Regions from separate parts of the Homo sapiens genome. Here region 1 is linked to region 2. The links are contacts of gene promoters, found by promoter capture Hi-C in human tissues and cell types (Jung and others, 2019). All regions are on one chromosome and are shown on one strand. Each heading gives the region's core, a stretch centred on a gene start or on the middle of the fragment in contact. The rest is flanking DNA. Distances are from core to core; before and after follow the strand shown.

Evidence for each region. The method cuts DNA at HindIII sites, captures the fragments that hold promoters and counts their contacts. A contact is called where the count stands out against the background at its distance.
Region 1: a contact is called between a fragment that was not itself captured here and the fragment with the promoter of SLC6A4 in region 2, in 2 of the 25 tissues and cell types used here (IMR-90 fibroblasts and lymphoblastoid cells).

Annotation. Positions count from the first base shown.
Region 1 is chr17:30,315,459-30,320,539 of GRCh38, reverse strand. TMIGD1 (transmembrane and immunoglobulin domain containing 1) reads left to right here. Exons shown (of 7, transcript NM_206832.3): 5 at 1,627-1,730; 6 at 3,307-3,347; 7 at 3,850-4,207. The coding sequence ends at 3,853. Among named protein-coding and RNA genes, the nearest start is that of TMIGD1, 16 kb to the left of the region's middle. The HindIII fragment of the contact is 8,272 bases long and covers 1-5,081 here.
Region 2 is chr17:30,234,447-30,239,430 of GRCh38, reverse strand. SLC6A4 (solute carrier family 6 member 4) reads left to right here and starts at 3,734. Exons shown (of 15, transcript NM_001045.6): 1 at 3,734-3,818. LOC105371720 (a long non-coding RNA gene) reads right to left here and starts at 1,933. Exons shown (of 3, transcript XR_007065698.1): 1 at 1,660-1,933; 2 at 631-1,111. RefSeq lists an enhancer at 202-1,102, cis regulatory regions at 2,098-2,140, 1,924-2,165, 2,554-2,593, 2,470-3,294, 2,166-3,655 and 2 more, a silencer at 3,318-3,500 and promoters at 3,001-3,755, 1,910-3,755, 1,936-3,760, 3,656-3,950, 2,166-3,950 and 1 more. The HindIII fragment of the contact is 6,948 bases long and covers 1,208-4,984 here.

The DNA.
Region 1 (5,081 bases), core at 1,347-3,846, 82 kb before region 2:
TATTTAACAGTTCGGTTAGAGTTGATGCCAGGTTGCATTTTACAGATGCTTAAACATTGATTAATTTTGATTAATTTTGCTACTTTCTTTTCATATCTTGGGGCCAATCATTTTTTTCTGGGTCTCAAATATTTTCAAAGGCTCTTAGAAAGCTTGCAAACACAGGCACTATGCCTATAGTGACTGATAAATAAAGTAGCTCTTGGCCCGGTGCGGTGGCTCATACCTGTAATCCAAGCACTTAGGGAGGCCAAGGAAGGCGGATCACAAGGTCAGGAGATTGAGACCATCCTGGCTAACACAGTGAAACCCCGTCTCTACTAAAAATACAAAAATTATCTCGGTATGGTAGCACGTGCCTGTAATTGCAGCTACTCGGGAGGCTGAGGCAGGAGAATTACTTGAACCTGGGAGGCAGAGATTGCAGTGAGCCGAGATTGCACCACCGTACTCCAGCCTGGGCAACAGGAGCAAAACTCCGTCTCAAAAAAAAAAAAATAGCTCTCAGTTGACCTGGTGTTTAGAAAATAAAGGGGTAGGCTTTCACTTCCAAGCTGTCATGGTTGCTGCTGATCTCTTCCTAGTCCAAGTTAGAAGTAGGCTCTCTCTCTTTGCATGGCATTTAGAGAGATGCAGAAAACTTTGCCAAGGTTGGGAAGGCTCATGCTTAGAGTCCTACTTCCCTAGAGACACTATGCAGCCACCTACCTTCTATAATGTCTTGTCACCTGCTTGGGGCACCATTGCAGTACAGGTACAAGGCTCCCCACTGCTTTTGAGGCCCACAGACCTCTCTCTCCTTCTTAGTCCAGAAAGCTCTCCACCCTTTCTCTTCTTGCTCTCAAAGCCTTCCTCCCTCTCTTCCCTCACCCACCCCAGGATACTTCCCAATATATTTTGGACTTTTCAAAATCCAGGCAAAATCGTTGACTTCAATCTACTTCTGCTCTGTGTGTGGCAAAAACTGTGGGTGAAGGAAGCACAAAATGGTCTACTTGTTTTAGGGGAGTTACTCATATTACAATAAATTATTATTCCACAAAGGAATTGATTCAAAACCTGCCTCTACCATTTACCAGTTCTGTGACTTTTTTTTTTTTTTTTTTTTTTGGAGACAGAGAGAGTCTTGCTCTGTCACCCAGACTGGAGTGCAGTAGCGCGACCCTGGCTCACTGCAACCTCTGTCTCCTGGGACCAAGCAATTCTCCTGCCTCAGTCTCCCAAGTAGCTGGGACTACAGGCACTTGCCACCATGCCCAGCTATATATATATATATATTTTTTTTTTTTTCTTTTTTTTTTACAGATGGGGTTTCACCATGTGGGCCAGGCTGGTCTTGAACTCCTGACGTCAAGTGATCTGCCCGCCTCAACCTTCCAAAGTGCTGGGATTCCAGGCATGAGCCACTGCACCCGGCCTAATTCTATGACTTTGAACAAGCACTCTAACCCCTCAAACCTCCTGGTTCCTCACCTGTGAAATGAGGACAATCATACCTACTTTTTGAGATTGTTGAGAAGGTTTAATTAAGGGGATGACACACATAAAGTTCAAGGCACCATTGCTGGGACGTATTGGAAGTATATAAATGTTCATTCTTATTCCCTGTGTTTGCATTTCCTACAGATAAAACTGTGGGTGTACCAATAGAGCCCATTATTGCTGCATGTGTTGTGATCTTTCTGACATTGTGCTTTGGACTGATTGCTAGAAGAAAGAAAATAATGAAGGTATCTAAGTATTCTGAGCTATTTAAGTAAAAAGCCATCATCTGAATAAAGGCAGAAAGCTAGAAATATAAGTGACTTCAGTTAGGAACCCTTCTTGGCAAAGTCAAATCTGGTCTTTATACCATGAGATCTAAAATACAGTTGCTCAAGGGAATAAAAATTATATGTACATTATGAGTACAGATTTACAAAGAAGAGAAGTGCACATGGGCAAAGCCTGAATTGAAAATAGCTGTGTTGCCAGGGGTAGGCAATTGGGGGCTGATTTTCCTCCTTTTAAATTGCCCTTTATTGTTGCTATGATACCTGTGGTATAATAAATAAATATAGGGAGGAACATCCGCTCTAGATTCAGAGATCTGCATGGAAAAGATGGCATTGGCTGCTCACTTCTGGACTATAGCCACATGCCCTGGCTGTAGTGGACTGGTGTTTGAATTATAAAGTGGTTATCCTCGTTGGTTGGTATGATTCAGAATACGTGCATGCTTAGGTTAATGCCATGCATTTGACTCTGCCAGCTAATTCAGTGCCAAAGGAGAGCAAAAAAGGCAGAAAGCCCTAGGCTGAGTTCATCATTCAGCAAGGGGCATTCTCCTTGGAACACATAGCAACAGGGCAGCCATGTCTCTCAAGAAGAAATTCACTCCACCCCCTATTCCAATCCCAAGCATATTTTAGTTGTTGTTGTTTCTTTTCTTTCTTTCTTTCTGTCTTCCTTTCTTTCTTTTTTTATTTTTTTGAGATAGAGTTTTACTCTCTCTCCCAGGCTGGAGTGCAGTGCCTTGATCACAGCTCACTGTAGCCTCAACCTCCTGGGCTCAAGTGATCCTCCCACCTCAGCCTCCCTAGTAGCTGGGACCACAGGCATGCACCACCGTGCCCGGCTAATTTCTGTATTTTTTGTAGACAGGGTTTTGCCATGTTGCCCAGGCTGGTCTCGAACTCCTGAGCTCAAGTGATCTGCCTGCCTCAGCCTCCCAAAGCACTAGGATTACAGGCATGAGCCACCACACCCAGCCACAAAGCATTTTTTTCTTTTTTTTTTTTGAGATGGATTCTTGCTCTGTCACCCTGGCTGGAGTGCAGTGGCGTGATCTCAGCTCACTGCAAGCTCCACCTCCCAGGTTCACACCATTCTCCTGCCTCAGCCTCCAGAGTAACTGGGACTACAGGCATGTGGCACCATGCCTGGCTGTTTTTTTGTATTTTTAGTAGAGACAGGGTTTCACCATGTTGGCCAGGCTGGTCTTGAAATCCTGACCTCAAATGATCCATCTGCCTTGGCCTCCCAAAGTTCTGGGATTACAGGTGTGAGCCACTGCACTCGGCCGCATTTTTTTTTCTATAAAAAAGTAAATACTCAAGTATCTAAGACACTGGAAGCATCTTAACTAAGAGTTACATCTTCTTTGAGTTTAATAAAAACTACTAGTGTGGCCCCAAAAATGACGCCTGAGCCAGTGCAGAGGTGTGCACAGGACACACACCTGTCCTCGAGCCATCTTAATGCATTCAAAATATTTCTCCATGGGCCTTAAAAAGCAGGCTAATTTACTGCCATGTTTGCTTTTAGCTCTGCATGAAGGATAAAGACCCTCACAGTGAAACAGCTCTGTAAGTACTCTAGGCCGGGACCAGTGCTTTTTAAATAAGCAGATGAATAGCAGTGATATGCATCACTCTAGACAAACTCCAGAGATGGGAGGTGCTGGAAGGGGAAGGGGTTCAAAGGAGAATAGAAGGTGGAGGAAAATCTGCCTCCACTTTAGAGGAAGACAGGTTGAAAAGTTGCCTAGAATAGAGAACACCTTTAGTCCTAAGCCTGCTCCCTCTTTAAGTGAGTTTGCCCAATGTTTGTGCAACTGCATTTTATTGCCACACAATGCAAATGCTCTGGAGGAAGTCACTGGTCCATACTGCTTTACAACAAGGCCAGGAACCACATTCATCCCCATACTGCCTTCTCTTTGCAGCTTTGTTTAGCGCTTCTAGCATATGTGAAGTGGGTAGTAGGTAATAAGAACAAAGGCATGTTGTCAGAGAGTATGGGTTTTGTTTTGAATTTTTTTCTTATTGCTATGAGCATCATTATTATTAATTTCTTCATTCATTTCAGATGAGAAAGCTGAGATGCCATCGAATACAGAGAGAGTTTTGCATCAGGACCTCCACAATTTATGTAGTCCCATCTGTATTTATTGCTATTATTAAATTCACTCCTGTCACTCCTGTTTCATTAATCACTTAACAGTAGTTGTTAGGACTAATTTGATACACTTGTGGAACATTTTTATGGAAAGAGCTATTAAGAATGAAAAGTAAGATTTTGTTAAGTCTTCTCCTTGAAGTATATGTTAATTAATTGAGATTTGTTCCAAATAGGTTGGTAATCATTTACTGTTTAGTGTGTTTTTTTTCTAGGTAGGAGATACTTGGGTCTCACAAATTGGTGCAAAGCCAAAAAAAAAAAAAAAGGAAGAAACAACAGAGTAATCAATTTTTTAAGTTGCCCAGGAAGCATATAAAAAATACCAGTTATGCCAGGTGTGGTGGCTCCTATAATCCCAGCACTTTGGGAGGCTGAGGCAGGCAGATTACTTCAGGCCAGGAATTCAAGATCAGCCTGGCCAACATAGTGAAAACCATCTCTACTAAAAATACAAAAAGCCAGGTGTAGTGGCATGCACCTGTAATCCCAGCTACTTGGGAGGCTGAGGCAGCAGAGTTGCTTGAACCTGGTAGGCAGAGGTTGCAGAGCTGAGATGGCACCACTGCACTCCAGCCTGGGCACCAGAGCAAGACTCTGTCTCAAAAACAAACAAACAAAAAATCAATTATTATCTACCTTCACTGTCGTTTCATAAAAGAAATGTTTTAGGACTAAAGAAAGAAAGAAGACTATAATCTTGAAATATAAGATGCTCCTTTAAATTGAATAAATTTAGTATTATGAAAAACTCAGCGTATGTTCCTATTTTTCTCATTTCATTGTAGTTGACATGGTCACAAAATTTGTGAGCTCTATGTGGCAATGAATGTTCAAAGAGCAATGAAATTGGTAATTTGTGTTGTACTATCTGTACTAATTATGAGTCAGCCTGTACTTTTCTCGTACCTCTCCCATTTAAACCACAGCTCTCATAATTTATAATTGACTTTCCCCATCTCCATTCTTTCTTCTTTTTTCCCCCATAAGAGTTTATGCTTCTCTTTCCCACACAACTGGGAGCTTGTAGGGGAGGCAGCCTTGGCCAGAATCATCTTTGATGTCTCTTCTGTGCTCCTCCTCTGTCTTAGAAAAACAAAACAAAACTGTTTTCATCTAATTTTGCAGTAGCTAAATGTGCC
Region 2 (4,984 bases), core at 2,485-4,984:
GGTGTCGGGGAGGTGCTGGTGGGAATGGAGCAAGATGACACTCTAAGGACTGAATATTGTCAGCATTTTCCTGGGCCTGAGAAAAAGCCCACAAGGAGGGGTGGGCCTTCTTCTTTCGTTATTGTATAAACAGGGCAGAGACAGGACAGACAGATGGCACCAAGGGCTTCCGGAGGGAGAGCCTGGGATTCGCATGGTTCGGTCCTGGCTGGCTCCACAGGGGACTCACTGCTGGCCTTTGAGACTTCCAGGAAGTGGGTTTTCTTGGTGGTGTTTGGGGCAGGTGTAAATATTTATGTGCCCCTTTCCTCTTAAAGTGAAAGCTTGTATTTATTCTGAGCCCCAGAGCAGCTTCTAAGCCCCACTATTTCTGGGCTCAAGCAGGTGAACAAAGAAAAACTATTGCTGTGCGGTGATTGCCAGGCAGCCTCTTCCCAGCTGCCCAGGACCTGTCGCCCTTGACATCTCCCTGGCTGTCCCTATACACCACCAGCACCAAGCTTCGCAGGTGCCTGCTGGGTTTCTGGCTTGCATCTCTTCCCTGCGGCCACCAGCTGACGCCTGCATTCACATTCTAAGGAACCCGTCTGTCCCAACCACCACGACAACCCCCTTCCCCCCTACTCTTACCTGCAGCCCACGCAGGTCACAGCCATTAGATCCTTCCCCTGAAGCGCTGCTTCCCTCCTGCCGCACTCAGGGCTCCCTCCTGCCTTCCATGCCCAGGACAGGGCCTCCCGGCCTCTCCAGGTCTCTGGAGCAGAGAGGTTGTGCCTTCCTCATGCGGTCAGGCTCAGGCTGGGAAGGAGCGGCCCAGAGGCGGGGGGAGGCACGGGTGCGGGGCTGCCTCTTCCCCGGTAGTGGACGCTGAAGCCTGTCCACCTGAATTGGAGGCGGGGCGGGGCAGTCGACTGACCGCCAGGCAGGGGAGCAGGGCGCGGGCTCAGAGGGAGGGAGTGGGAGGCCGAGGAAGGACAAGGTGCTTGTGGCGATGAGTATCAGAAGGCAGAGCGGAGCTGCTCAAGAGAGGCTGGCTCTGTGGAGGTGAGGACCTGCAGGTGGGCCTGGCCTCTCTGTGGGATGGTACCCAGGGCAGGAGGAAGAGAAACACCTGTTTAGAGAGAGGGGGAGGGTCTGGGCCAGTTGTGTGCGGACTCTGCCATGGAGGCAGGGGGAACCAGGGCGGGGCCGTCTGTGTAATTCTAATGTCATTTGCTAATGGTGGTTGCCCGCAGCTGGGGAGCAAGAGGGGAGGAGATGGGACCACCCGGCCAGAGAGAGGAGGGGTCGAAGGCCCCCTTGGAGGAAGGGCCCAGCGCACAGGGCCTGCAAGGAGTTGGCCCCTTCCCCACCCACAGCTGGGCAGTGCCCACTGAGATCATCCTCCCTACTTCACAAACAGAGACACAAAGGCCAGACAGCTTGAGGTTAAGGAGCTCGGTCAAGCCCACACCACAGTACAGGGTGGGGGCCGGGATTTGACCCAGGTCCACAGGGTGCCCACTCTCTAGGCAGCACCTGCACAGAACAGGGCAGTGCCATAGGGAGGGGCTGCGCGCTGGGCAGGAATGCATCTTCGGCTAGAAAGAGTCTAGAAGGAAGATCAGAAGTGGCGAGACTGCACAATTAAGAAGTGCTAAGAAGTCACACTGGACAGACCTGGTCTTGGTAGCCAAGCGCTGAAGTCACCCCTGCAGCCGTCCTCCGCTTTGGCGCCTCTTCCCAGCGTCCCTGCCCCCCTCCTTTGGCCCTCCTGGAAAGGACACTTTGCGTTTTCTGTTGCCCTTGCCTATACAGCACAAACATGCTCATTTAAGAAGTGGAACGTGGGAGGCAGCAGACAACTGTGTTCATCTGAAAGGAGGAGGCCCCACTCCCGTGCAGGCGCTGCCCCTGGGGGTGAAATTCCCAAGCTTGTTGGGGATTCTCCCGCCTGGCGTTGCCGCTCTGAATGCCAGCACCTAACCCCTAATGTCCCTACTGCAGCCCTCCCAGCATCCCCCCTGCAACCTCCCAGCAACTCCCTGTACCCCTCCTAGGATCGCTCCTGCATCCCCCATTATCCCCCCCTTCACCCCTCGCGGCATCCCCCCTGCACCCCCAGCATCCCCCCTGCAGCCCCCCCAGCATCTCCCCTGCACCCCCAGCATCCCCCCTGCAGCCCTTCCAGCATCCCCCTGCACCTCTCCCAGGATCTCCCCTGCAACCCCCATTATCCCCCCTGCACCCCTCGCAGTATCCCCCCTGCACCCCCCAGCATCCCCCCATGCACCCCCGGCATCCCCCCTGCACCCCTCCAGCATTCTCCTTGCACCCTACCAGTATTCCCCCGCATCCCGGCCTCCAAGCCTCCCGCCCACCTTGCGGTCCCCGCCCTGGCGTCTAGGTGGCACCAGAATCCCGCGCGGACTCCACCCGCTGGGAGCTGCCCTCGCTTGCCCGTGGTTGTCCAGCTCAGTCCCTCTAGACGCTCAGCCCAACCGGCCGCACAGTTTTCAGGGGTCAGTTCCTCCAAGTACAAGGGGCGGTGGCTTCTCTGGAGCTGCAAACTTGTCACTGCTATTTCCTTTCGGTCTTCTACTTCCTATCGTTCCTGGCCTCCTCTTGGGGAGAGGTAGAGCCCTCTCCTTTCCGCCTCAGGGACAACCCAAAGCAAGTACTGCATGTGCCCTTTTTAAAGTTTTAAATAATTTTAGCAAAAAGGATATTAACATTAAATCAATTTTTAAACTTTTTGAAAAAATTATCAAAACTACATGCACATGGTTCAAAACAATAGGCTCCTGCTGGGCCCTTTCAGATAATTCAAATTGTCACCAGGTTGGAGTGCAGTGGTTCGATCACGGCTCACTGCAGCCTCGACCTCCCGGGCTCAGCTGATCCTCCACCTCAGCCTCCTGAGTAGCTGGGAACACAAGCGCGAGCAACCACGCCCGGCTAATTAAAAAAATTTTTTTTCTAGAGATGGGGTCTTGCTGTGTTGCCCAGGCTGGTCTTGAATTCCTGGGCTCAAGCAATCCTCCCGCCTCAGCCTCCCAAAGCACTGTGCTCCTTTTTGACGCAGCTTTGAACTGTAGCTGGTTAACAAAATGAGAACCAGTTCTTCATTCCTTCATTGTGGAAGTCTTTATTGTGAGACTCTGGGGACGGAGAGGAATTAGACAAGGGCCTCTAAGCTGAGCTCACATCCCAGCCGGTCAGTCAGATAAACGCATGGGTATCGAGTACTGCTAGGTCCCAGGAAGAAAGAGAGAGCAGCTTTCGGGATGGGGACGATGGGGAGGTGTCCGAGGTCAAGAGAAAGCGGCACGAGCAGACCCCTGTGTGCCGTCCTGTGGGCGCGGGGCGGCAGGGGAGGCGCACACCTGCTCCTTTGTGCAGCCTCCCCCCTCCCGCAAAGTTAAAGAGCAGGAAAGTCAGGATTCCTCGCTCGGCCCTGCCCTGCCGGCTGCTCCGCGCTCCGCTCCTCCCTGCGAGCGTGTGTGTGTGTCGGGGGTCCCTCCCCTCCTGGCTCTGGGGTCGGGCGCGCACCCCGCCCCGTAGCGCGGCCCCTCCCTGGCGAGCGCAACCCCATCCAGCGGGAGCGCGGAGCCGCGGCCGCGGGGAAGCATTAAGTTTATTCGCCTCAAAGTGACGCAAAAATTCTTCAAGAGCTCTTTGGCGGCGGCTATCTAGAGATCAGACCATGTGAGGGCCCGCGGGTACAAATACGGCCGCGCCGGCGCCCCTCCGCACAGCCAGCGCCGCCGGGTGCCTCGAGGGCGCGAGGCCAGCCCGCCTGCCCAGCCCGGGACCAGCCTCCCCGCGCAGCCTGGCAGGTGGGTCCGCTTTTCCTCTCCGCCTCGAACCCACGTTTCTTTCCAGACCTTCTTCCCCGCCTCGGGGAGGGGGATAGAACCGCTGCGCCCCACCGCCCTGCGAGGAGGCGAGGAGGTGCATGCGCCCCAGCGGTGGGCGCCGGATCCTGCCCCTGCGCCCTCCACGCTCAGCAAGAGCCAGAGCTGAAGCTGACCGGCCAGAGTGGGAGACGAGGAACGTGGAGTGCTCGAAGTGGGCGGGCGTAGGGGGCTCCTTTGTCTATTGTTGCAGGGGCTTTGCAACCTCTTGAGGACCCGTGAAAGACCCCTTAAAGAGGGTCTTGAGCAAAGTGCTGTCCTGCGCTTTGGGAAGAGTTGCTTGCTTTCGTTTCAACCCATGGTTTATGTTTGATCTTTACTTTGCTGTCATCGCGTGCAGGTGGCTTTATGCAAAGGGAGAGTTCTGGTTGACACAAATGCCCAGACAGCTAGAGAAATCTCTGAGTGGCGCCTAAGTGGGCCGAGTCTCCGTGCGCTTGGGTGGTTTCACTGTCAGAGCTGAGGCGCTCTCAGACACCTCACAGGCCATTCAGAATGTATGTGAAACTCCAACTCCAACGACTGTGCTACGTGGTTGAAGGATATAACCATCATTTGCTTGAAAATTGTGTACATTCAAACTTGTTCTTGAAAAAAAGCTCTCTGGAGCTCAAGAGTGGATTTGGGTCTTGGGCTAAGGAGCAGATTTTCTTCTGAACTGGGGCTTTTGCATATTGAATTGTTCCTTTTCCATTTGGGACTCTGAAGAATTTGAGAGGGGTAGAATTTCTGAATCAGACATTACAAAGACTTTGTGTATGTATTTTTACCATCAGTTTTGTCCAGAAAAGTGAACCTGGTCAATGGATTATTTATGAGCCTGCTAGCTAACTCTCATCATAGGAAGACGAGAGCAAATATTTAATGTGTTTTGCCTTCAGTTACATAGGAAAAATGTCTAAGAAGGTGACATTGGGACTTGTGTTTAATGAAACAGAGAACTGTGGGCAGCGTCAGTGTTGGGTTTTTAGGAGCGTAGGGAGCACACAGCTTTGACTCTTTGTCCCATTACTTGCTTCTGTGTGAAGCCACTGAGGCCCCAGGGTTCGGGTTTTCCTGCCACGCACTCTGGGGTGGCAGTGACCGTT